Regions from separate parts of the Homo sapiens genome. Here regions 2, 3, 4, 5, 6 and 7 are each linked to region 1. The links are contacts of gene promoters, found by promoter capture Hi-C in blood cells and fetal thymus (Javierre and others, 2016). All regions are on one chromosome and are shown on one strand. The core of a region is centred on a gene start or on the middle of the fragment in contact, and the rest is flanking DNA. Distances in the headings are between cores, read along the strand shown.

The links. The method cuts DNA at HindIII sites, captures the fragments that hold promoters and counts their contacts. A CHiCAGO score of 5 or more calls a contact.
Region 2: the fragment with the promoter of ZNF749 here is called in contact with the fragment with the promoter of ZNF324 in region 1 in 10 of 17 cell types (neutrophils, activated CD4 T cells, naive CD8 T cells and 7 more); the score reaches 12.9 in neutrophils.
Region 3: a contact is called between the fragment with the promoter of ZNF548 here and the fragment with the promoter of ZNF324 in region 1, in 9 of 17 cell types (non-activated CD4 T cells, total B cells, monocytes and 6 more). The highest score is 12.5, in non-activated CD4 T cells.
Region 4: a contact is called between the fragment with the promoter of ZNF304 here and the fragment with the promoter of ZNF324 in region 1, in 1 of 17 cell types (naive CD8 T cells). The highest score is 5.3, in naive CD8 T cells.
Region 5: the fragment with the promoter of VN1R1 here is called in contact with the fragment with the promoter of ZNF324 in region 1 in 12 of 17 cell types (total CD4 T cells, fetal thymus, naive CD8 T cells and 9 more); the score reaches 16.4 in total CD4 T cells.
Region 6: the fragment with the promoter of ZNF17 here is called in contact with the fragment with the promoter of ZNF324 in region 1 in 4 of 17 cell types (fetal thymus, non-activated CD4 T cells, neutrophils and 1 more); the score reaches 9.4 in fetal thymus.
Region 7: a contact is called between the fragment with the promoter of AURKC here and the fragment with the promoter of ZNF324 in region 1, in 4 of 17 cell types (neutrophils, naive CD8 T cells, non-activated CD4 T cells and 1 more). The highest score is 16.6, in neutrophils.

Annotation. Positions count from the first base shown.
Region 1 is chr19:58,465,074-58,468,336 of GRCh38, forward strand. ZNF324 (zinc finger protein 324) reads left to right here and starts at 2,007. Exons shown (of 4, transcript NM_014347.3): 1 at 2,007-2,110. RefSeq lists enhancers at 1,738-2,354, 2,355-2,969 and silencers at 1,997-2,046, 2,127-2,256. The HindIII fragment of the contact is 6,014 bases long and covers 1-3,263 here.
Region 2 is chr19:57,433,693-57,436,753 of GRCh38, forward strand. It overlaps ZNF749 (zinc finger protein 749), which reads left to right and starts at 1,633. Exons shown (of 3, transcript NM_001023561.4): 1 at 1,633-1,901. The coding sequence starts at 1,887. RefSeq lists enhancers at 1,218-1,517, 2,148-2,197. The HindIII fragment of the contact is 4,352 bases long and covers 1-3,061 here.
Region 3 is chr19:57,388,558-57,391,428 of GRCh38, forward strand. It overlaps ZNF548 (zinc finger protein 548), which reads left to right and starts at 1,297. Exons shown (of 4, transcript NM_001172773.2): 1 at 1,297-1,557. The coding sequence starts at 1,543. RefSeq lists enhancers at 855-934, 1,075-1,554. The HindIII fragment of the contact is 17,908 bases long and covers 838-2,871 here.
Region 4 is chr19:57,349,985-57,352,893 of GRCh38, forward strand. ZNF304 (zinc finger protein 304) reads left to right here and starts at 1,287. Exons shown (of 3, transcript NM_020657.4): 1 at 1,287-1,713. The coding sequence starts at 1,681. RefSeq lists enhancers at 463-1,322, 1,280-1,369, 1,323-2,181, 1,520-1,589. The HindIII fragment of the contact is 5,195 bases long and covers 1-2,909 here.
Region 5 is chr19:57,455,545-57,458,404 of GRCh38, forward strand. VN1R1 (vomeronasal 1 receptor 1) reads right to left here and starts at 1,596. Exons shown (of 1, transcript NM_020633.4): 1 at 1-1,596. The coding sequence starts at 942. The HindIII fragment of the contact is 5,648 bases long and covers 1-2,029 here.
Region 6 is chr19:57,409,389-57,412,587 of GRCh38, forward strand. It overlaps ZNF17 (zinc finger protein 17), which reads left to right and starts at 1,773. Exons shown (of 4, transcript NM_001330617.2): 1 at 1,773-2,018. RefSeq lists enhancers at 1,777-1,886, 1,967-2,026 and a silencer at 2,270-2,472. The HindIII fragment of the contact is 5,033 bases long and covers 1-2,947 here.
Region 7 is chr19:57,229,482-57,232,410 of GRCh38, forward strand. AURKC (aurora kinase C) reads left to right here and starts at 1,542. Exons shown (of 7, transcript NM_001015878.2): 1 at 1,542-1,825; 2 at 2,261-2,306; 3 at 2,552-2,743. The coding sequence starts at 1,768. The HindIII fragment of the contact is 17,293 bases long and covers 1-2,929 here.

The DNA.
Region 1 (3,263 bases), core at 757-3,256:
TTTTGAACTTTAATACTTCCTTTTTTTTTTTTTTTTTTTTTTGAAACGGAGTCTCGCTCTGTCGCCCAGGCCGGACTGCGGACTGCAGTGGCGCAATCTCGGCTCACTGCAAGCTCCGCTTCCCGGGTTCACGCCATTCTCCCGCCTCAGCCTCCCCAGTAGCTGGGACTACAGGCGCCCGCCACCGCGCCCGGCTAATTTTTTGTATTTTTAGTAGAGATGGGGTTTCACCTTGTTAGCCAGGATGGTCTCGATCTCCTGACCTCATGATCCACCCGCCTCGGCCTCCCAAAGTGCTGGGATTACAGGCGTGAGCCACCGCGCCCGGCCCTGAACTTTAATACTTCTAAGTGTTGGGGTTTTTTTTTTCCCCCTCAGGGTTTTTGTTTGTTTTTTCCTGAGACAGGGTCTCTCTCTTACCCAGGCTGGAGTGCAGGGGCTCCATCATAGCTCACTGCACACTCCAACTCCTGAACTCAATCCTCCCACCTCAGCCTCCCATGTAGCTGGTATTACAGGCATGCAAGACCATGCTCAGCTAATTTTTATATTTTTTTATAAAGATGGGGTCACATTTTGTTGCTCAGGCTGGTCTCAAACTCCTAGGCTCCAGTGATCGCTCACCTTGGCCACCCAAAGTGCTCAGATTCCAGGTGTGAGCCACTGCGCCCAGTCCTGAAATGTTCTTAAATTCTTTCAAAGTAGCAAAATTTATATTAAAACATTCCAAACATGATGAGCTCCCTTGCTCTACAAGGATTTACAAGTAGAATCAATTAGGTGGACAGTTATAGCTGACAGTTGACAGAGAGATAGTTATAGATGGAGGTAGGTATAGAGGGAGGGAGGCAAAAAGAGTTAAGGAACTGGACAGCTGAGAACTGTCTACAGGTTCCAAAAACAAGACAAAGAACCTTTTATTATCTGCCAAACAAGACAGTCTACATTGAGACTGCTCTGCCTTTCGTTTTTATGTGTCAAAGACACTTAAATTGGCCTGTAATCCCAGCACTTTGGGAGAACGAGGTGGGCGGATCACCTGAGGTCAGGAGTTCAAGACCAGCCTGGCCAACATGGTGAAACTCCATCTCTACTAAAAAATACAAAAATTAGCCAGGCATGGTGGCGCACACCTGTGGTCCCAGCTACTACGGAGGCTGAGGCGGGGGGATCACTTGAACCTGAAGGCAGAGGTTGCAGTGAGCCGAGATTGTGCCACTGCACTCCAGCACGGGCAACAGAACAAAGACCCTGTTAAAAAAAAAAAAAAAAAACTTAAATGAGTCCCAAGAAAAAAGGAAAAAAGAATGAATATTGTGATGTGTGGGGCAAGACAAGATCTAGATGGTCTAAGGACAAGCAAATCTGGGGAATTAACTTCTGCCCATCCAAATTACAAGGAAAACAGATGCTTTGGGCAAGTGTCGAGGAACAGTCTCATACTTAAGACAAATGTAGGCTTACGGGCTGAGAATTCTTGGTGTAAAGGTTGAAAACGGACCTTAAACCTTTACGGGACATTGACACAGAGAGGTCAAACCCGCGCCCAGGACGCACAGTCAGTGAGAGGCAGAGCTGGGAAGGGAACCCGGAGCTCCAGGCATCGGCTCCTCCACCTCCACCTGCGCTACCCGGTGCATTTTCTCCTCCGTGCTCACTGCTGGTGTTGCCTCTTGGAACCTCGGCAGTTTCTGCTTTCGCACCTGCAGGGTTTAGTCTCCGGGACTGCTTGGGAGGACACCTGGAATGCCGAAGGCAGGACTACACACCGGGCGAATCCACCAGCGCCACCAAGCCCTTGAAAACCCGAGGCCGCCGCGCGACTCCATTTCCCAGCGCCCCGCGCGGCAGGGGCTTGGACGTTGCCAAGGAGACCGGTAGTGGCCCCGCCTCCACGCAGGGAAACAGGCGGGAACCACGTGACCCGGAAGGCTGTACGCAAGCGTCCGCGGCGCGCACTGGGCCAATGAGAACCGAAGGGCTGGACTTCCGGCGGTGGGACTGTCACTTCGCCGCCCGCGTCAGGCCACACCGGTGGTCTGGGCTGGGGACCGCGGGTCGGGTCCGGTTTCCAGGGGGTTCCTGGTGCTCGAGGCTGGCGGCGAGGAAGGTACTGGCTGAGGGCCCGCGTCGGGCCCGCCCTGCGCACGCGTCGTGATCAAGGGCGCCGGCCGCCGGCCGCGCCCCCAAGCCTCTGTTTCTCAGAGTGCGTCGTGGGCGTCCAGGGGACTGTCGGGCCGCGGCGGGAGCCATGCGCTCTCCCACCGTGCGGCAGCCCAGGAGGCTGCGCGCTGGGCGTTCCACGTCCATGATGGCCGGGGAGACTGAGGCGCGGGGCGGCCCCGGGACGCTGCTGGCGGGGAAAGGCTGGGTGGTCCACGCCTTTCTTCCCTCCCAGCTGCGGGTTCCGCTGGCGGCGGTGGCGCTGACAAGCCCGCGTCGGGGAAGCAGGGGAGTCCCTGCTCACACAGACCGCGCCCTCACGGAGGGAGGCCGCTTCCTAGACCTCGCCTAGTCGTCTTTCCTCTCCCTGCCCTGGGGGGGTTGCGGGGGTCAGTGCAAACTCCTGCGTCCAGGGCACTGGTGAGCTCCCGAGTTCGGGCAGCCAGGGGGCTGAGGTCCCGAAGGAGGCTCCGAGGGGAGAGTCCTGCGTGTGCAAAACCTGGGAGGGGAGCCGAAGCCCAGGTGCTTCTGGGACTGAGCTCTCTCGATGTGGAGCTGGAGTAGAGGGGATGTGTGCGGCTGCAGTATCAGGCGAGGGAGTGGGCTTTATCTCGAGGGCGTCGGGAGACATAGAAGTTTTGAACAGAATCAGGACATCCTCTGAGGACTTTAAAACGGTTCCACCGTTTGTTGCGTGGAGAACAGACATGCAGGGGTGTCGGCATGAAGGGAAGAACCGACTGCCACAGTCTGGGCAGCAGTGGAGGTGGGCGACCAGGTGAATTCTGGTGGATCTGCGGATGCATCAGGTGTGGGCTGTTTGAAGAACTAAGTACCCCATGTTGTTCAGCCTGAGCGCCTGGAAGAAGAGAGCTGCTGTAGATAGAAAGGAGAATTGAAAGGAAAGCAGGTTTCCTTCAGGGGAAAGATCAAGAGTCTGGGATGTCCCAGGTTGGTCATGTCACTGGACCTGACGTTGTTGGCGTCCTGGGCTGTGGACAGGGCCTATGAATTGGACTGAGGAATGGGCAGGGACTCAGCCAGGTGTGGGCAGTTATGGCTTGAGGGTAAAGAAGACCAGCTGGGATGCCTGGGGCTAT
Region 2 (3,061 bases), core at 383-2,882, 1.0 Mb before region 1:
TGAATATAAAGAGAATGGGTTTTAATTTTTGGTCTTTTCTTTGTTCTTCCTTCACTAATCCTGCAGAAGAGACCATAAGGCATTATCCAAATCTTCATTTGTTGGGGGCATGGTTTTCAGGTAGTATTGCCACCACCTGATGGCAATACTATTGCTACTCAATTTTTCTCTCACTGCTACTCAATTGCAGTGAGAGAAAAATAGCTCTAAATGCCGACTTTTTGTAGTGCATTGTAAAAAGCTGAATAAAGCCAGGGACGGTGTCCTGTACCTACAGTCCCAGCTGCTCTAGAGGCTGAGGTGGGAAGATAGCTTTAGCTCAGGAGCTGAGGCCTTATCATAAGGCCTTATAAGACTACCTGGAGGCTTCATCTGCATGATATAACCTTGGTCTTCACAACCCCTTGTCTTTTTTTGTTTTTGAGACGGAGTTTCGCTCTTGTTGCACGGGCTGGAGTACAATGGCGAGATCTCGGCTCACCGTAACCTCCGCCTCCCGGGTTCAAGCGATTCTCCTGCCTCAGCCTCCCGAGTAGCTGGCATTACAGGCATGTGCCACCATGCCCGTCTAATTTTGTATTTTTAGTAGAGATGGGGTTTCTACATGTTGGTCAGGCTGGTCTCGAACTCCCAACCTCAGGTGATCCGCCCACCTCGGCCTCCCAAAGTGCTGGGATTACAGGCGTGAGATACCACGCCCGGCCCACAACCCCTTAACCCAGACAACCATTTCTACTGATTCCAGGTCTTTAGATACAAACTCTTTCAACCAATTGCCAATCGGAAAATCTTTGAACCCACCTGACCTGGAAGCCCCGCCCCTCCCTTCCAGTTGCGCCTTTCCAGAGGAATCCAATGTACATTTTACATGTATTGATTGATGTCTTACGTCTTCCTAAATTGTTAAAACCAAGCTGTAGATGGGCCACCCTGGGCATATGTTCTTAGGATATCTTGGAGCCGTGTCATGGGCCATTAGTCACTCATATTTGTCTCAGAATAAATCTCTTCAACTATTTCACAAAGTTCCACCCTTTTCGTCGACAGAAAGATATTCCTCCTTCAACTCTCCATCACATCCTGTGTGGGTCTTTTCTTTCTTGTCCCAACAGAAGCACACTAACGATCAAAAAAAAGTCTCCAGAGCCTCAGTATGTGTGTACTTGACAAGCACAAAAGAGCTGACCGCTATGAATGGAGGACCAGTTCATTATGGTCAGCCATGTCGCTTCTGATGTTCTTCCTTTCGGGACTTGCTGTGCTTCAGAGAATCTGAAACGACAGGTCTCTGAAATATTTCTCAGACTTGTCCTAGACTGCTCTCCGGGAAAATCTGGTTACTTGCAGTTTAGGAGTCAGCAAAGCCCCTCCACGTCCTTAAGAGCCCCGGAACTGCATTTCTTAACGCTCCTCCAGGAGCCTCCAGCTTTTTTCCGTAAGGTCCGCGCGCCCAGCATTGTGAGGCGAGGCAGGCAGCAGCGTGGGAACTACATTACCCAGAAGACACTGCGGGCGACACAGGCAGCAACGTGAGAACTACATTACCCAGAAGACACTGCGGGGGCAGGGCAGCGAGTGTAGCCATTGGTCTAGCAGAGAGACGACTAATGAGGTCTCAATTGTGTGGGCGGGACTTCTGGCGGCGCCCTCATGGTTGCGTTAGCATGGCTACCTAGGGATCTGTTCACTGATTTAGAGGGTCCCAGAGCTCTGGGTCGGGACTGAGGTGAAAGAGCGGAAAAACGCGAGAAGCGGTGTTCCTTCTACACAGAGGCTAGAGTGCGGATCGGCTGAGTCGGCTGCAGGCGCCCCTGCCTCCGTCAGCGTCCAGGTGACCGCCGTTCCCGCCCCGCTCTTCCCTGGGTGGACTGGAGGAGGCCGCGCCGATGAACCTGACCGAGGTGCGTGCAGCGTCCCAGGCCGCCCCGCCCAACCCCTCCTCCCAGTGCTGAAGTCCCAAGGAGCCGCCCTGCAGGTTAGGCCCTTGTGTCTCTAAGAGAGGGGCGTTCTTGTGTGGGGTGCCCGGGACTGGGACTGCGGTGCGATGAGGCGGGGGAGCTCCCGTCGGAGACCGACACGTCTCTGGGGCTTGGAGGCACTGCAGAACGGGCGGCACTGGGGAGCCCGAGCGTCTTTGTCTCCAAGGAGCAGAGGTTGAGGCGGAGTCTCCCCTGGAAGGGCAGTGGAGCCGCAGAGAGCCATAGAGGGCTGTGCAGGGAGGACGAATGGGAGGGTCACGCCCAGAGTTAGAAGTTTAAAGTTGGGGAAAACAGGATGTTGAACGGGGGCAGGGGGACCGCTGAGGAGACCCCTTGAGTTATGGTAGGGCTGGGCCAGAGGGGTTGCAGTAGAGGGGAGATGTGATGAGACTCTGGATGGATCTCAGAGATAGGGTCAACAGGATTTCCTGCTGCATCAAACATAGCTGTGAGGGAAAGTCGGTAGTGAATGGTGTCTTCCATAGGTTTTGTTTTGGCCTGAAAAATCTGAAAGAATGGAATTAGAGATATCAGCTTAAGGAGCGGGTTTCAGACAGAAGATCCTGGGTTGGATTTTGGGCGACATCACATGGGTAGGTGGACGTAATTTCCAAAGGTGAGGGAAGGTAGCTGGCCTGGAGCTTTAAATGAGTTAGAAGTTGTGCACTTGAGAAGTTGGCCTGTGGATCAGATTGAGAAGGAAGAATCCTACATCGTTTTTTCATATGGGCTGAGGTAGGGGAGGGCTCAGATTTGGAGGAAAGACCATGGTAGGGAGGGCATCTCTGATACTCCCTGCAGAAGGGAGCAGATATGGGCTAAGAGTCTGGTCTGTTTCTGTTGAAAAAGAGGCCTGGATGGATAAGGAGTTGCCCTGGAATACAGAGACTGAGGCATGAGATAATTGTAGTCACTCCACCCTTCTAACTCAGCTGGCCCTGAGGGCCACTCTTTAGGGAACAAGATAAGGCCATGCAGCAACTGGGTCCAAAACTGGGCAGGGCTTTCTCACATCCTCCACCACAGTTAAGGGCCTCCAGCAAGCTCCCTTTACTGCATTATATGGCAGGCTGACCTGTTTG
Region 3 (2,871 bases), core at 47-2,546, 1.1 Mb before region 1:
GAAATAAAAATAAAATTCTAAGCACCCCCTAACTGACTGAATGGATGCCCTCTTGACCATGAGAACCCTAGAATAACTTTGGAAGCTGAATTCACCACTATAGAGGAACGGGAAATCAGACACACCTCATTATATCCCCTACCACACTACAATCATTAGGTTTTCTTCCCTAAGGGCTAAATAGAAATCAACCTTTTCAGAAGACTACTAGCTTATCTTCCAAGGTACAGAACAGAGAGAAGATGAGATTATTCATTCCTTCATCCTTCTCTGAGACATCTTCTTTATTCCCTTTTCCCCTCACGTGTTTACTCTATCTTATGTAAAATGTAGATTTACTGGGCACTAACTAAAGTTTCACATGTCTGTAATCATTTGTCTCACTGCCAACCCCTCTTCCTTTTTAAGGAAAATGTATAATAAATACTAAACCTCCTAAGAACCTCTTTGGAAAAACCAGCCACAGATGCTTCTGTGACTTACATTTTTCTGGATGTGCCCTTAGGCTGGTCCAGTAATCCTCCATGATTTGTGACTTATGCCTCAATCACTCATTTTGGTCGTCACTCTCATTTTCAGATAGGATTGTGATTCTTAAAATAAATGGAAAATATCTCAGATATGAAGTAGTAAGTATTATTAGAATAAAAGCGTTGCACCCTTCGTAGGAACACAATCGCTGACTCTACAGTCAGGTAAGATGTATTCTCTTTGATCCAGAGGCATAGCTTCACCCTTTCAACCTACTTCAGCGTCTCCTGTCATCCTTCCTACAAATTCCAGTCCATAGCCCTAACTGCGTAGTCTTTCTTTCTTCTTCTGGACCAAACATATTGAAGCTTACTAAACAGACGCCAAAGCGTAACTGTATGTGTATTTGAAAAGCAATAATATGGCTGGCAGGCATGAGTAGAGGCAGACTGCCTTTATGGTATGGGGTGTCTCTTTGGACCTGTAGTTATTGGGAATTAGCTGTGCTTAATAGAGTCTTAAGTAATAAGTTGCTAACATTTCTGTAAATATCCTATACTACAATCCAAAAAAATACCGTATGTTGCCTTTAAGAGCAAGCCAAGCCCCCTCCTGTCTTTGGAGTCGGGGACTCCGTTTCCCAGCTCCCCTGACAGTGCCACTGGGCCTTTATCTGCCATATAAGGACTGATCAACGCTCTAAGACAAGTCCGGAAGCGGTGTCGAAACTTCATAACCCAGAAGACACTGCAGCTCTCGGCGGCACGACTTACCCAATAAAGGCTTAGAAGGGGACGTTTGCGTGCGTGCGCACCGTCGGAGGGCGGGACTTCCGCCGTCCTCCTGGTGGTGGTCGTTTTGGTTCTGTGTGGTGTTTCACCAACTTCGGCCTATGGCTCTGTCTGACGTCACCGAAGTGACGGAACGGAAAAGCGCGAGAAGCGGCTCGGTTCCCACCACGGAGAGGCGGGAGTGAGTCAACTGACAAGCGCTGGGGACAGTGGCGTCCTTGTCTTGCCTTTGTCGCTCCCGCCCCGCTCTTCCCTGGCTGGGCTGGCGGAGGCCTTGCTGATGAACCTGACTGAGGTGGGTGTCCCGTCCCAGGCTCCCCCGCCCGACCGGTCCTCCCAGTGCTGAAGCCCCCTGAAGGGGCCCTGCAGGTCAGGCCCCTTGTCCCGAAGAGAGGGGCGTTCCTGTGTGGGGTCCCCGTATCAGCCGATTTGATGCAGCCTCAGAGCTCCCGTTAGGGACCTCAGGTTCAGAGCATGGAGGCGCTGCCGAGTGGGCTGTGTTGGGGCGTCAGGGGTGTGTGTTGTTTCTGCGGGAAAGAGAGGGTTTTGTGAATTCTCGCTTGGAATGGCAACCTGAGCAGCCAGTAACCATGGAAGGTTGTCAAGGGAGGGACAGTTGGAGGGGGCAGGTCCAGAGTTCGAAGTTTCAAGTTAGGAAAACCAGGTTAGGAATGGACACAGGGAGACGCGAAAAGGCCCTGAGGCCACTGCAGTAGACCCAGGAGAATTATGGTTGGGGCTGGACCAGTGACAGTAGAGGGAGATGTGATGAGATTCTTCATAGGCCTGAAAGATAGGGCCCGTAGGTTTTCCTGGTGCTTCAGTTATGTCTGAACAAAGGCAGTGAAGAACCGTTTCAAGTGTTTGTTTTGTTTTTTGTTTTCTGTTTGAACGTTTGGAAGAATGGAGTTGGGGAAGTCAGCATAAAGAGCAGATTTCCGGGAGAAGATCACAGGTTGGATTTTGGACATGGTGATTCTCAAATGTCTCAAGATGGATATGTCACACAGACAGGTGGACATAAAGGTGTGGAGTCTGAGGAAGGGGATTGGGTTGGCGATACCAGACGGATGGAGGGCTTGGACTGGGCCAGAGAATGGTCTGAGGATCAGATTGAGTAGGTCGGTCTCGGGTTTTTTTTGTTTGTTTGTTTGCATAAATTTAAGGAGTCAAGTGCAGTTTTGTTATATGGATATATTTGCATAGTGGTCAAGTCTGGGCTTTTAATGTATCCATCGCCTGAATAATGTACATTGTATCCATTAAGTAATTTTTCATCACTCATCTTCGTCTCATCCTTCTACCTGTTTGGAGTCTCCAATGTTTGTCATTCCACACTCTTTGTCCATGTGTACACATTATTCAGCTTCCACTTGTAAGTGAGAACATTTGGTATTTGACTTTCTGTTTCTGAGTTGTTTCATTTAATAATGGCCTCCAGTTCCATCCACATTGCTGTAAAAGACATAGTTTCATGCTTTTTTTTTTTTTTGTGGCCTAGTGGTATTACCTTGTGTATATATATGCCACATTTTCTTTACCCAGTCATACATTGATGGATAATTGGTTAATTCCCTATCTTTGCTATTGTGAATAGTGCTGTGATAAA
Region 4 (2,909 bases), core at 37-2,536, 1.1 Mb before region 1:
GAGAAACCCCATCTCTACTAAAAATACAAAATTAGCCGGGCATGGTGGCGGATGCTTGTAATCCCAGCTACTCGGGAGGCCGAGGCAGGAGAATCGCTTGAACCTGGGAGGGAGAGGTTGCAGTGAGCTGAGATCGTGCCATTGCACTTAAGCCTGGGCAACAAGAGTGAAACTCTGTCTCAAAAAAAAATTATAACTATTATCTATGATGCTATTTGATGAGTGAGGGAATAATTGTACTTTTTTCTTTTTTTTTCAAAATCACACTGATCCTGAAAAGGTGGATCTTTGATTTATCTTCCTAAAGCAGTGTATGTGAGAACCTTGTGTTGAGGAAGACTGATAACAGCTTGTATGTATTTAGCACGATGTGCCAGGCCTGGTGTTAAGTACTTTTTACCTCACTTCCCATATTCCTAATGAGGTTGGTTGTAGTGTTTTTCATCTTACTGATTTTTTTTTGTTTGTTTTTGTTTTGTTTTGTTTTTGGCTAATGACTTTAAAAGACCTCCAGTTCTTGAACTTCAGCTAGGGTCCCATCCCCAGAGTTTATCAGAAGGTATAGGTTGGGTCCAAGAATTCACAGGTTTTTTAAGTTCATAGTGAAGCTGATGCTGTAAAACTACATATCAAATTGGGAAGCAATGAATTAGAAGAGGCTCATGTTTTCGTCATGTTACATGTAAGTTCCTCCTTCACTTTTCGCCATGAATAAAAGTTCCCTGTGGCCTCACCAGAAGCAGATACGGGCACCATGCTTCCTGTACAGCCAGCAGAAAGGTAGCTAATTACATCTCTTTTCTTTATATGTTAGAAAAATTAGAAGGACATTCAATGTTTTACAAAAAGGCCCACAAACGAAATACAGACAACGTTCAATTTATTAATACGTTTCAATCCCCAAATCTGAGAGAGGTGAAGCAGGTTTCCCAGGGCCTCAGAAGCAGGATTGAAGAATGGGTCCCTTGCTGGCGACTTCAGTGGCGTGGCATTGTCCCAGGTGGCCATGGAAATCAGGGTGCATACCCTTTAAAAGCAGCTGTGGCCTCCGAGATATCGTTTTCCCAGTCTTTTCTCCCCCTCCCTGCACGACGCCTCTTGGCAGACATCCGGGAGAACCCGAAAGGCGCTCGTTGCCTGGTTGGATGCAGGGTACAAACTACGTTACCCAGAAATCTGTGCCCAGCTCATTGTTAGCCGGCGTGCAGCCAATGACAGCCCAGAAACTGGGCGTTTCCTGCTGCTCTGGGCTGCAGGGGCGAGACTTCTGGCGTCGCCGTCGTGACGTATTTTTCCTATGCCCGGTCCGTGCATTCTGGTTGTGAAGGCTGAGTTCTAGAGATCGGGTCGGCTTTCTACGCGGCTCTCGTGGAACCTAGCAAAGAAAGACAGTGAAGACTGCAGGACCTTCCTTCGCGCTTTTGTTACAATCCATGACCCCTGTCGTGGGACGGGCGGCCTCTCGCGGAGGTGTCTGCCGGGGCTGGGCTCTTACCGAGGCCTCCACACACGTCCTCTTGTCCTTGTCTCCCCCAGAAGCAGCCGCCTTAGTCTTGTGAGCGTTTTTACACCGGGTAGATTGAGACTTGGAGTGCTACACTCAGCCCGAGGGCGTCCAGCGCGGTGGAGGCGTGGGGTTTCGGCTGAGCCCACAGGGCACAGACTGTTCATCCGCTTCTCATGGCAGCGGCGGTGCTGATGGACCGGGTTCAGGTGAGTGGGGGCATCCCTCAAGCGCACCCCGGCCTGGTTGGTGTGTCCTGGGATGTTCGCTCTCATCGCGCACTTCAGGGTGCTCACTCCGTCGCATTATGTGGAGGGGTTCCGCTCCCCTCATCAGTGGCATAAGGTGTGGAACGGACTCGAAGGCGCAGGGGCAGTTCGTACAAATGCATGCATGGAGAGGAGAATGAGTTTGGGGAGTTCCGGGAACTCTCTGTGCCTGGTGAGAACAGGGACTAGGGGGTCAGAGGTAGGCCTGGAATGGCCGCCCGAGGAGCTGGTCCTCTCTTCTGAGGGTGCTGGGAGTCATGCAAGGTTTGGTACAGAGAAGGGAGGTCCTCTGACGCAGTTCTTAAAAGGCTCCCTCTGGCTGCAGAGTGGGTAGACTAGGGATTATAGGGTAGACGGGGAGATCAAGATGAAGTCTACTGAAATAGTCCAGGTGAGCGTTGATGGTCTGGGCCAGAGTGGTGGCAGCAGAGGTTAGAGAATGTATGGGTTTTGGGTTTTGTATGTATTTTATAAGGAAGGCTGACCAGATTCTCTGATGAGACATAGTGATGATATCCTGGGATTCTTCACATGACTGTCTTCACTTGAGACAGGGGGCAGTGAATGGAGGTCATTTCTAGTTTAGTGTCCTGAATCCAGGCCATGAGTTGTATGGAGTTATGTGGAGAAGTCCCCACCTGGCGACCAATGGGATGAGTACTGCAAAAGTATATCAGACCTAGGAACAGGTACGCTCAAATGCTTGTAGGATTGAGTTTGGAGCGCTCAGGGAATCTCAGGTCTTAATTACCTTTGTTGGAAACAGGTATCAGAGGAAGGAGTTAGGCAGGAATGGCTGGCCGAGGTGTCTTGAGTGTGGTAAAAGTCGTGGGAGATTTGGAGCAGAGGAGGGAGATGATCTGACTCAGATTTTAACATGCTCTCTCTGGCTTTCAGGTTGAGAACAGACTGTGAGCATGAGGGAGCAGCTACTGCAGTAGTGTTGATGGTGTCTGGTCTAGAGGTGTGGCTGTGGAGGTGAGAGAAGTTGGTAAATTTTCTGTTTTTTAAAGTAGGGTGATTGGATTTTTTGATGCGAAAGGTGAAAGAGAGGAGAGTCGTGGATGACCCTAAGGTTGGTTTGTTTTTGCTGTAGCTGGTAAAATTATGAAAATGCCATCAACTGAGATAGAGAA
Region 5 (2,860 bases), core at 346-2,845, 1.0 Mb before region 1:
GGCGACCAACACAGAGTTGGTCACTATCCACTGGCCTGGGTTTGCAACTACAGTTGTCCAAATTGTCAGAAAACTATGGACTGAATAGAAAACAAAAAAGGAGCTCACCAGGACCATGATGGTGTGTGTGGCTCTGGCTTCCTGGGAAGGTCTGCAGGAGAGTCTGTTGCTGTGATTGTGTTGGACTTGCTGCTTGTGTCTGTAGAGGAAGAAGACCATGGAGCCACTGGCCCAGACCATGAAGCCCAAACTCATAAAATCAGGGGAAAAATATAAGACTGCATGTAATGAGCTAAATCTCTTTGATGCTTTGTAAGAACAGTATCCATAATTGTTTTTTGCACTACTGTTTTTGCTATTCAGTGGGCCATTCACTAATAGAAGAACAGATGCATTCATCAAGACATGGGGGGCCCAGCAGAGGAGACAACAGAAGTCAATAAACCTTGGGGATCTAATCTTGATCTCCATCCACCTGCATATACTGGGGTTGAGCTTAATGGCTTGGAATCCATTGAGAAGGCAGATGGTGCTGAGGGAAACTCTTGTGCCCACCCTGTGATAATAAAAGACAAACTTACATCCAGTGTCATTCAGCAAATATTTCAATCCAAAAGCTGCCATTGTCTGAGGTATCCCTTTAAAGAAAAGGACCATGGAGTTAGCCAAGGCCAGTTGGCTGAGAATCAAGTCCGTGGGTCTCAGCTTGTGTCCAGTGAACAAAATTAAGTTATAAAAACAAAGGAGAAAGGAATTTCCCAGGATCCCAACTCCAGTCTGAATGAGGAAGCTAATCCCTGATTTTACTTTTCCAAAAGCCATTTCATCAAAATCTAGGGGATGTTGATTTTCATTGAGGTCTGAAGAATCAGTAGAATAAAAAAGCAGAAAGAAGTATCTTGTCATCAGTGGAGACAGAAGTTTTAATGTGTCTCCAACCATATTTTCTCATCTTAAACAGAAATTAAGATTGTCCCTGTTCGTGCAAAGGCAATTGCTTGTGTGTCCAACTGCAGAGAAGCAGGTGAATGAATGAGGGCTCAACCGCACAACAGATCCACAAATCAAACCTATAAAACTCAGGGCTTACACACATGCAACAAGTAAATACAAGCAAAACTAGGGAAATATATAAAAACAGAACACAGAAGAGTCAATATCATTAGAGTGATATTATACTATAGTTTGCAAAATGTAATCATGACGGAACCCTGGGTAATATGGACAGGGCTTTTTCTGTATTATTTCTTATGACTGCTTGTGAGTCTACACTTATTTCAATAAAACCTTCAATTAAGTAGCCTGGAGATATGAAAAGCAAAAATAATACACCATAAAACCTTTTCCACACTAATATTTTAGTAAACACCATTGTTATTGATGCATTGAAACAAATTTTAGGCCGGGTGCAGTGGCTCACACCTGTAATTCCAGCACTTCGGGAGGCCAAGATGGAGACCATCCTGGCCAACATGGTGAAACCCTGTCTCTACTAATAATACAAAATACTAATAATACAAAAATTAGCCGGGCATGGCGGCGCGTGCTAGTCCCAGCTACTCGGGAGGCTGAGGCAGGAGAATCGCTTGAACCTGGGAGGCAGAGGTTGCAGTGAGCTGAAATCAAACCATTGCCCTCCAGCCTGGGCGACAGAGCGAGACTCTGTCTCAAAAAAAAAAAAAAAAGAAATTAAAAAAACGCTACAATACAATTGGTAACAAGGCCTTCAGCACAGTACAAATGCTAACTTGAAGAATTTTTAAAAACTATAATTTTTGGAACAATCAACATTGCATCATGGTATATTTTATTTTAAGCACATATATTTCTGTTATTTTCCACCGGACAGGTCTAGAGATTGTGAATTGACTCCGTAGAAATAACCATGACCACCTTGAGCCCACACATTTTTATCTCAATGCCATTTCTCACAAGTAAATGCAAAAGATCCTGAAAATAAATACTAATCCCAGAAACACCTAAGATATCCTTAAAACTTGTTAAATAGGAAATTCAATATGTTCCAGAAAGCTTGGGTTTATTTTTAGGGAAAGATAATTCAATTGGGAGGGAATTTCATTGCACAATATTCATATATATCAATCACAAAAGAAATAGTAACTGCGGCCAGGCACGGTGGCTCACGCTTGTAATCTCAGCACTTTGGGAGGCTGAGGCGGGTGGATTACAAGGTCAGGAGATGGAGACCATCCTGGCCAACATGGTGAAACCCCGTCTCTACTAAAAATACAAAAATTAGCTGGGTGTTGTGGTGCGTGCCTGTAGTCCCAGCTACTCGGGAGGCTGAAGCCTCCTGGGTTCACGCCATTCTCCTGCCTCAGCCTCCTGAGTAGCTGGGACTACAGGCGCCCACCACCACGCCCGGCTAGTGTGTGTGTGTGTGTGTGTGTGTGTGTGTGTGTGTTTAGTAGAGACGGGGTTGCACCGTGTTAGCCAGGATGGTCTCGATCTCCTGACCTCGTGATCCGCCCGCCTCGGCCTCCCAAAGTGCTGGGATTACAGGGATGAGCCACCTCGCCCGGCCATAATTTAGATTCTTTTGGTGTCTCTATGGAATTGCTATCATCAGGGAAAATTATGAGGTATTTTCTCCCATGAATAACTACATCTCTTTAGGGGTGGAGCAATCAATAACACAGCAGTATCAAGATTCTCAGGCGAGAGGTGGCTCACGCCTGTAATCCCAGCAGTTTGGGAGGCCGAGGCTGGTGGATCAGCTGAGGTCGGGAGTTCGAGACCAGCCTGACCAACAGGGAGAAACCCCGTCTCTACTAAAAATACAAAAATTAGTCAGAGGTGGTGGCGCATGCCTGTAATCCCAGCTACTCGGGAGGCTGAG
Region 6 (3,199 bases), core at 523-3,022, 1.1 Mb before region 1:
GTTTTTTCAGAGACGGGGATCTCACTATATTGCCCAAACTGGTTTTGAACTTATGAACTCAAGTAATCCTCCCGTCTTAACTTCCATGTAGCTGGCACTACTGAACAGCTTTAACTCTTCCAGACCTTCAGTTGGGTGGTTTTTTCTTTTCCTTTCGTTTCCTTCTTTCTCTCTCCTTCCTTCCTTCTTTTTGTAATTTGATAAACCAAATTTCAAGACTTTGGCCAAAAAACAGTCTTCTCCTTTACTGAATATCTCAGTGCTCCATTTTATTTTTCCCTCACCAATTCTGCAGGAGAGATCACAAGACTATGTCCATATCTTTATTTGTGGGGGTATGATTTTCAGCTAACATAGCTGCTAAGTGATTTAATTTACAATTATAGTGGTAGAAAAATAGCTCTAACTTCTGAGGTTTTGTAATTTATTGTAAAAAGCGGAATACAGGACATTTAAAGTGACCTGACAAGGTCAATACAGGACTGAGGACTAATTCATTAAATACGTCTTACGTGTCTTAGAGGACCACAGACAGCTAGCAACCCTACTCCTAATGTGTCCCATGCACTTAGTATTGTACCTGGCATCGAATGAGTGTTCATCAAATATGTTAGAGTAATAAATACGACAGCACAGTTTCCCTATTCAGCTTTACTTTTCTGGTAACTCTTTTAATATATAGTCTTTACCTCTCCCTTCAAGCTGTTAATGCACAATGTTTTCAAGTTTGAAAAAGAATCAGATTTTGGACACCAAACTTGAGTGTGTCCAAGGTTCCAGGACAACCTTAGCTTTTTTCCTCCTATCACAAATATGTTTCTCTATAACTATTTTTGCCACTTTCTTTGGATATCTACATAATCGTCATTAATAGTTTCAGTAATAGCCATTTCACAAGAGTTATTCAGAGACAATTTCAACTCCCTGTGCAGACACTGTTGATACAATTTCAGGCGAAATGATAAATCACTTTCCACTAATGAGATGAGATCATGCATTCCCAAACCTTTATCTCAGGAGTAAGATGCTTTCTTTGCACAAGGGCTTTGACTGGTGGAAGGCCACACTATTCTGGCAGATAATGGTAGATAAGTCGCTTTTCCTTTTCAGTTAGGTTTCAGTCTCTTAAAATAAGTGGAAAATATCTCAGATATAAAGTAATAAGTATCATGTGAATAAAGTGTTGCTGGGTAGGCTGAAAGACAATAACTGATTATTCAGAAAGGAAAGATATTACTCCTCAAACTCCCCATCATGCCATGTCTGGGTCTTTTCAATGTGCCCAGCAGAGCACATTGAAGATCATAAAACAGTCTCCAGAGCTTCGTTCTGTGTGTATTTGGCAAGCACAAAAGAGCTGACCGCTATGCGTGGAAGACCAGTTCTTTATGGTTGGCCATGTTCCTTCGGATGTTCGTCTTTTGGGAACTTGCTGTGCTTTACAGAATCTGAAAGGACAGGTCTCTGAAACATTTCTCTGACTTGTTCTAGACTGCCTTCCGGGAAAATCTGGATGCTTGCCGTTTAAAAGCCAATGAAGCCCCTCCACGTCCTTGGAGCCCCGCAACTGCATTTCTCAAAGCCTCAGGAGGATCCTCCTGGCTTTCATCCTGAACGCGAGTTAACTTAAGTTCAGAAGCGGGGCAGGCAGTGGCCTGGGAACTACATTACCCAAAAGACACAGCGGCGGACACAAGCAGCGAGTGTAGCCAATGAAGGCCTAGCAGAGCGGCGTCTACGGGGGTTCGCAATGCGTGTGGGCGGGACTTCCTGCAACGCCTCCTGGGGTTGTCAATATGGCTGCGTTGGGATCTGTTCACCTTCAGGCTGAGTCGAGACTGAGGTGAAAAAGCGGAAAAACGCGAGAAAAGGTTTCCCCGTTGTACAGAGGCTAGAGTGAGGCTCGGTTGAATCGGTTGCAGGCGTTGGTGCCTCTGTCAGCGTCCAGGTCACTGCCGCTCCCGCCCCGCTCTTCCCTGGCTGTGCTGGCGGAGGCTGCGCCGATGAACCTGACTGAGGTGGGTGCCGCGTCCCAGGGCGCCCCGCCCGATCCCTCCTCCGAGTGCCGAAGCCCCGAGGAGGGGCCCTGCAGGTCAGGCCCCTGTGTCCCAAAGAGAGGAGCGTTCTTGTGTGGGGTACCGGTGTCCGCGGTGCTGTGAGGCGGGGGAGCTCCTGTCAGGGACCTGCACGTGCGAGGCTTAGAGGTGCTGCAGAGCGGGCGGCACTGGGGAGCCCGAGCGTCTTTGTCTCCACGGAGCTGAGGGTGAGGCGGAGTCTCGCCTGGGAGGGCAGCGGAGCTGCTGAAAGCCGTAGAAGGCTGTGCAGGAAGGGTTATGCCCAGAGGTAGACGTTTAAAGTTGGGAAAAACAGGATGTTAAACCAGGACAAGGGGACCGCTGAGGAGACCCCTTGAGTTATGGTAGGGATGGGCCAGAGGGGTTGCAGTAGAGGGGAAGTGTGATGAGATTCTGGATGGATCTCAGAGATAGAGTCGACAGGATTTCCTGCTGCATCAAATGTAGCAGTGAGGGTAGTGAAGGGTCTATTCCATGGATTTTGTTTTGGCCTGAAAATCTGAAAGAATGGAGTTGGAGAAGTCAGCTTAGGGAGCAGGTTTCAGAGAGGATTATGAGTTGCATTTTGGAGGGCTGAGTTTTGGAGGGCAGATCATGGGTGGGTCCATAAGCCTGACGCTACCTTTAGAAAGGCGCAGACCTGTCATAGGAGGGATTCTGGCTCATATCTGCAAAAACGGAGTTCTGAATGGGTTAAGGAACTGGCCTAGGCTGGAGACTGAGGTGTGAGGTGGTTTAGATTTCTGCACCTGCAGACCCAGCAGCCCCCCAGGCCCACTCTGTGGAACAATAGGAAGGTCATCCAGACTAGTGGGGACATTGGGTCCAGACGGGGGTAGGGCTTTCTCACATCTAGTCAAGGGCCTCCAGCAAGCTTCCAGCAACTGAATTTGTAGCAGGCAGGCCTGGTTGCTGATGGGACCAGTAACTGACCTGCTTGCTTATCCCCTCCCTGCAACTTATTTATTTATGAATGTGTAAAACATTTTTTTTTTTTTTGAGACAGAGTCTCGCTCCATCGCCCAGGTTGGAGTGCAGTGGCGCGATCTCGGCTCACTGCAAGCTCCGCCTCCCGAGTTCAAGCAATTCTCCTGCCTCAGCCTCCCGAGTAGCTGGGACTACAA
Region 7 (2,929 bases), core at 292-2,791, 1.2 Mb before region 1:
CAGTTTGGAGCTGGGCGCAGTGGCTCACACCTGTGATCCCAGTATTTTGGGAAGCCGAGGCGAGTGGATCACCTGAGGTCAGGAGTTCGAGACCAGCCTGGCCAACATGGTGAAACCCTGTCTCTACTAAAAATACAAAAATTAGCCGGGCATGGTGGCAGGTGCCTGTAATCCCAGCTACTCAGGAGGCTGAGGCAGGAGAAATGTTTGAACCTAGGAGGCGGAGGTTGCATGAGCTGAGTTCGAGCCACTGCACTCCAGCCTGGGTGACAGAGCAAGACTCCGTCTCAATAAACAAACAAACAGACAGGTTTGGGAAAGCCTCTGAGAAAGGAATGGTTGGCCTGAGCTAAGCGCCATTACCCTGATCCACCTATTGTAACCACCTAATGGGTTCATTATTTTCCCTGCTCCCCAGATAGAGTCGACTTATCAAGACAGGATAATTGCAATAAAGGGTTTAATTCACATCAATCGAGCTAAATGAGAGACCAGAGTTTTATTACTCAAATAGGTCTCCCCAAATATTTTGAGACGAGCTTTTTTGTTTTTGGGTTTTTTTGTTTTTGTTTTTGTTTTTTTTGAGACAGAGTCTCGTTCTCCTTCTGTCGCCCAGGCTGGAGTGCAGTGGCATGATCTTGGCTCACTGCAACCTCCGCCTCCAGGGTTCAAGCGATTCTCTTGCCTCAGCCTTTTGAGTAGGTGGGATTACAGGCATGCGCCACCACACCCGGCTAATTTTTGTAGTAGAAACGGGGTTTCGCCCTGTTGGCCAGGCTGGTCTCGAACTGCCTACCTCAGGTGATCCGCCCGCCTCGGCCTCCCAAAGTGCTGGGATTACAGGCATGAGCCATCACGCCAGGCCTTCAATTATATTTCTGCAAGATATGTTCCCTGTCTAAAAGAATTCAATTTTTAATGTTTTTGAAACTTATGTGTTTGCTAAACAAATACGTGGGGGCTGATTTTACGATCTGAGGCCAAATCCACAAACTGATTACAGGGTCCAACAAATATTTGGCGAGTGGGAGGAGAGGGGTAAGTGAGCTGGACTGGTGGCGTCCTGGCTGTGAGCAGGCACAGCCGCAGGCTTCAGGGAGCCCCATCGCGGTGACCCTGGAGAGTGGCCTGAATCGGACGTGACCTTGAAGCAAGGTGGTTTTGGGGTCGCCGGCTGCACAAGGCGCGAAGTGGTTTAGGGTCACGGGCTGCACGAGGCTCCAGCACGTCAGGAGTGGGCGTCTGTTCATTCCCACGTGCATCGCGGCTCTCTCCTAGTTGACGCATGCACACCCCGTGGGTGTATGCGTTGTTCATTCCCACAACGGCCATCACCACCTCTCCGCACCCTCTGTCTCCTTCCTTCTCGGGCCTCACCCCTGGCCCTCGCTTTCAGTGCCCAGCCCGGACCGCAGCACTCCAGTTCCGCCCCAACCCGGGAACCCTGGACTGAGGCTCCCGTTTCTGTCCTTTCTATTGGGCGCACTTCCGATGGCGTCAGGAATTTCAGCCAATAGGAGCCAGCCAGGAAGTACCTCTCTGAGCGGTTGGTGCCGGGTATAAAAGAAGGCCGCGCAGCCACGGCTGCTCACGACGCCGCGGATCCCGAAGCCTGTGTAGCAGTGAGACATCAGTGAGGCTGCAGGACGAGCAGGATTGGAAGCGCCCCGGCCAGAAAGTGACCCCCCACCCCTTTCAGGACCCTGTGAACGGGAACAGCCATCCAGAGGGTTCAGGAAGGCGTCCGCGCCCTCACCTCTTCTCCCCATGAGCTCCCCCAGAGCTGTGGTGCAGCTGGGCAAAGCTCAACCTGCAGGCGAAGAGTGTGAGAGCCAGCGCCAGAGAAAGGACGCAGGGAAGGCTGGGGACTGGGCCAGGGGTCGGGTGCACAGAAGACACATGTGTTGACATCTCCCCTCCCTCTCCTCCTCCCCAACGCTCTTCTTTTCTCCCCACTCCCTCCCTTCCCTCCAATTCTTTCTTTCACCTCTCCCTCCCCTACTCTCTCCTCCCCTTCCTTTCTCTCTGCCTCTTCTTCACCTCCTCCTCCCCTCCCTACCTTACCTTACTCTTTCTTCTTCCCCTTACCTCTCCCTCCCCCTCTCCCTGCCTTCCCCTTCCCTCTCTTTCTCTCCTCCCCTTCTTCCCCTCACCTCTCGCTCCCTATTCCCTTCTCTACTGTTCTCCTCTCCTCTCTTTCTCTCCCCTTCTCCTTCCCTCCCCTCTCCCTTCCTATCTCCCTCCTCCTCCTCTCTTTCAGTGGCTACAGCAAACCAAACAGCCCAGCAGCCCAGCAGCCCAGCCATGTGAGTCCCTTGGGATTGGTATCTGGAAAAGGAAGGAAGGTGGGACGTGGGGATGAAGAACAGACTGGGTGTGTGGGGTGCTGGCTCCTGGGAACGAGAACTACTGATAGGGCTGGGTCTGTGTGAGAAGGGAAAGCGGCAGAGGAAGGATACAATGAAAGAGGAAGGGGAGCATTGGCATCCCTGACTTTCCCTCCGCCTACCCTACCTCCCAAGCTGAGGCTTTTTTCTTCCTCTCCTGTCAGGCGGCGCCTCACAGTCGATGACTTTGAAATCGGGCGTCCCCTGGGCAAGGGGAAATTTGGGAATGTGTACCTGGCTCGGCTCAAGGAAAGCCATTTCATTGTGGCCCTGAAGGTTCTCTTCAAGTCGCAGATAGAGAAGGAAGGACTGGAGCACCAGCTGCGCCGGGAAATTGAGATCCAGGCTCATCTACAGTAAGGACAGTCTCTGCTTCCTCTTTCATCTTTGACGTCTGAGCCCAGCATTTTCCCCAAATACTAACCCCAAGTAAACCCTGCACTTGTACCTTGAAGACTTCTCTGCAGTTCATTCCATTTACACTACCTCCTACCCTGGGTCAGACACTCGAATCCTGGTTCCTGTTCTCCGTTCTCCCCTCA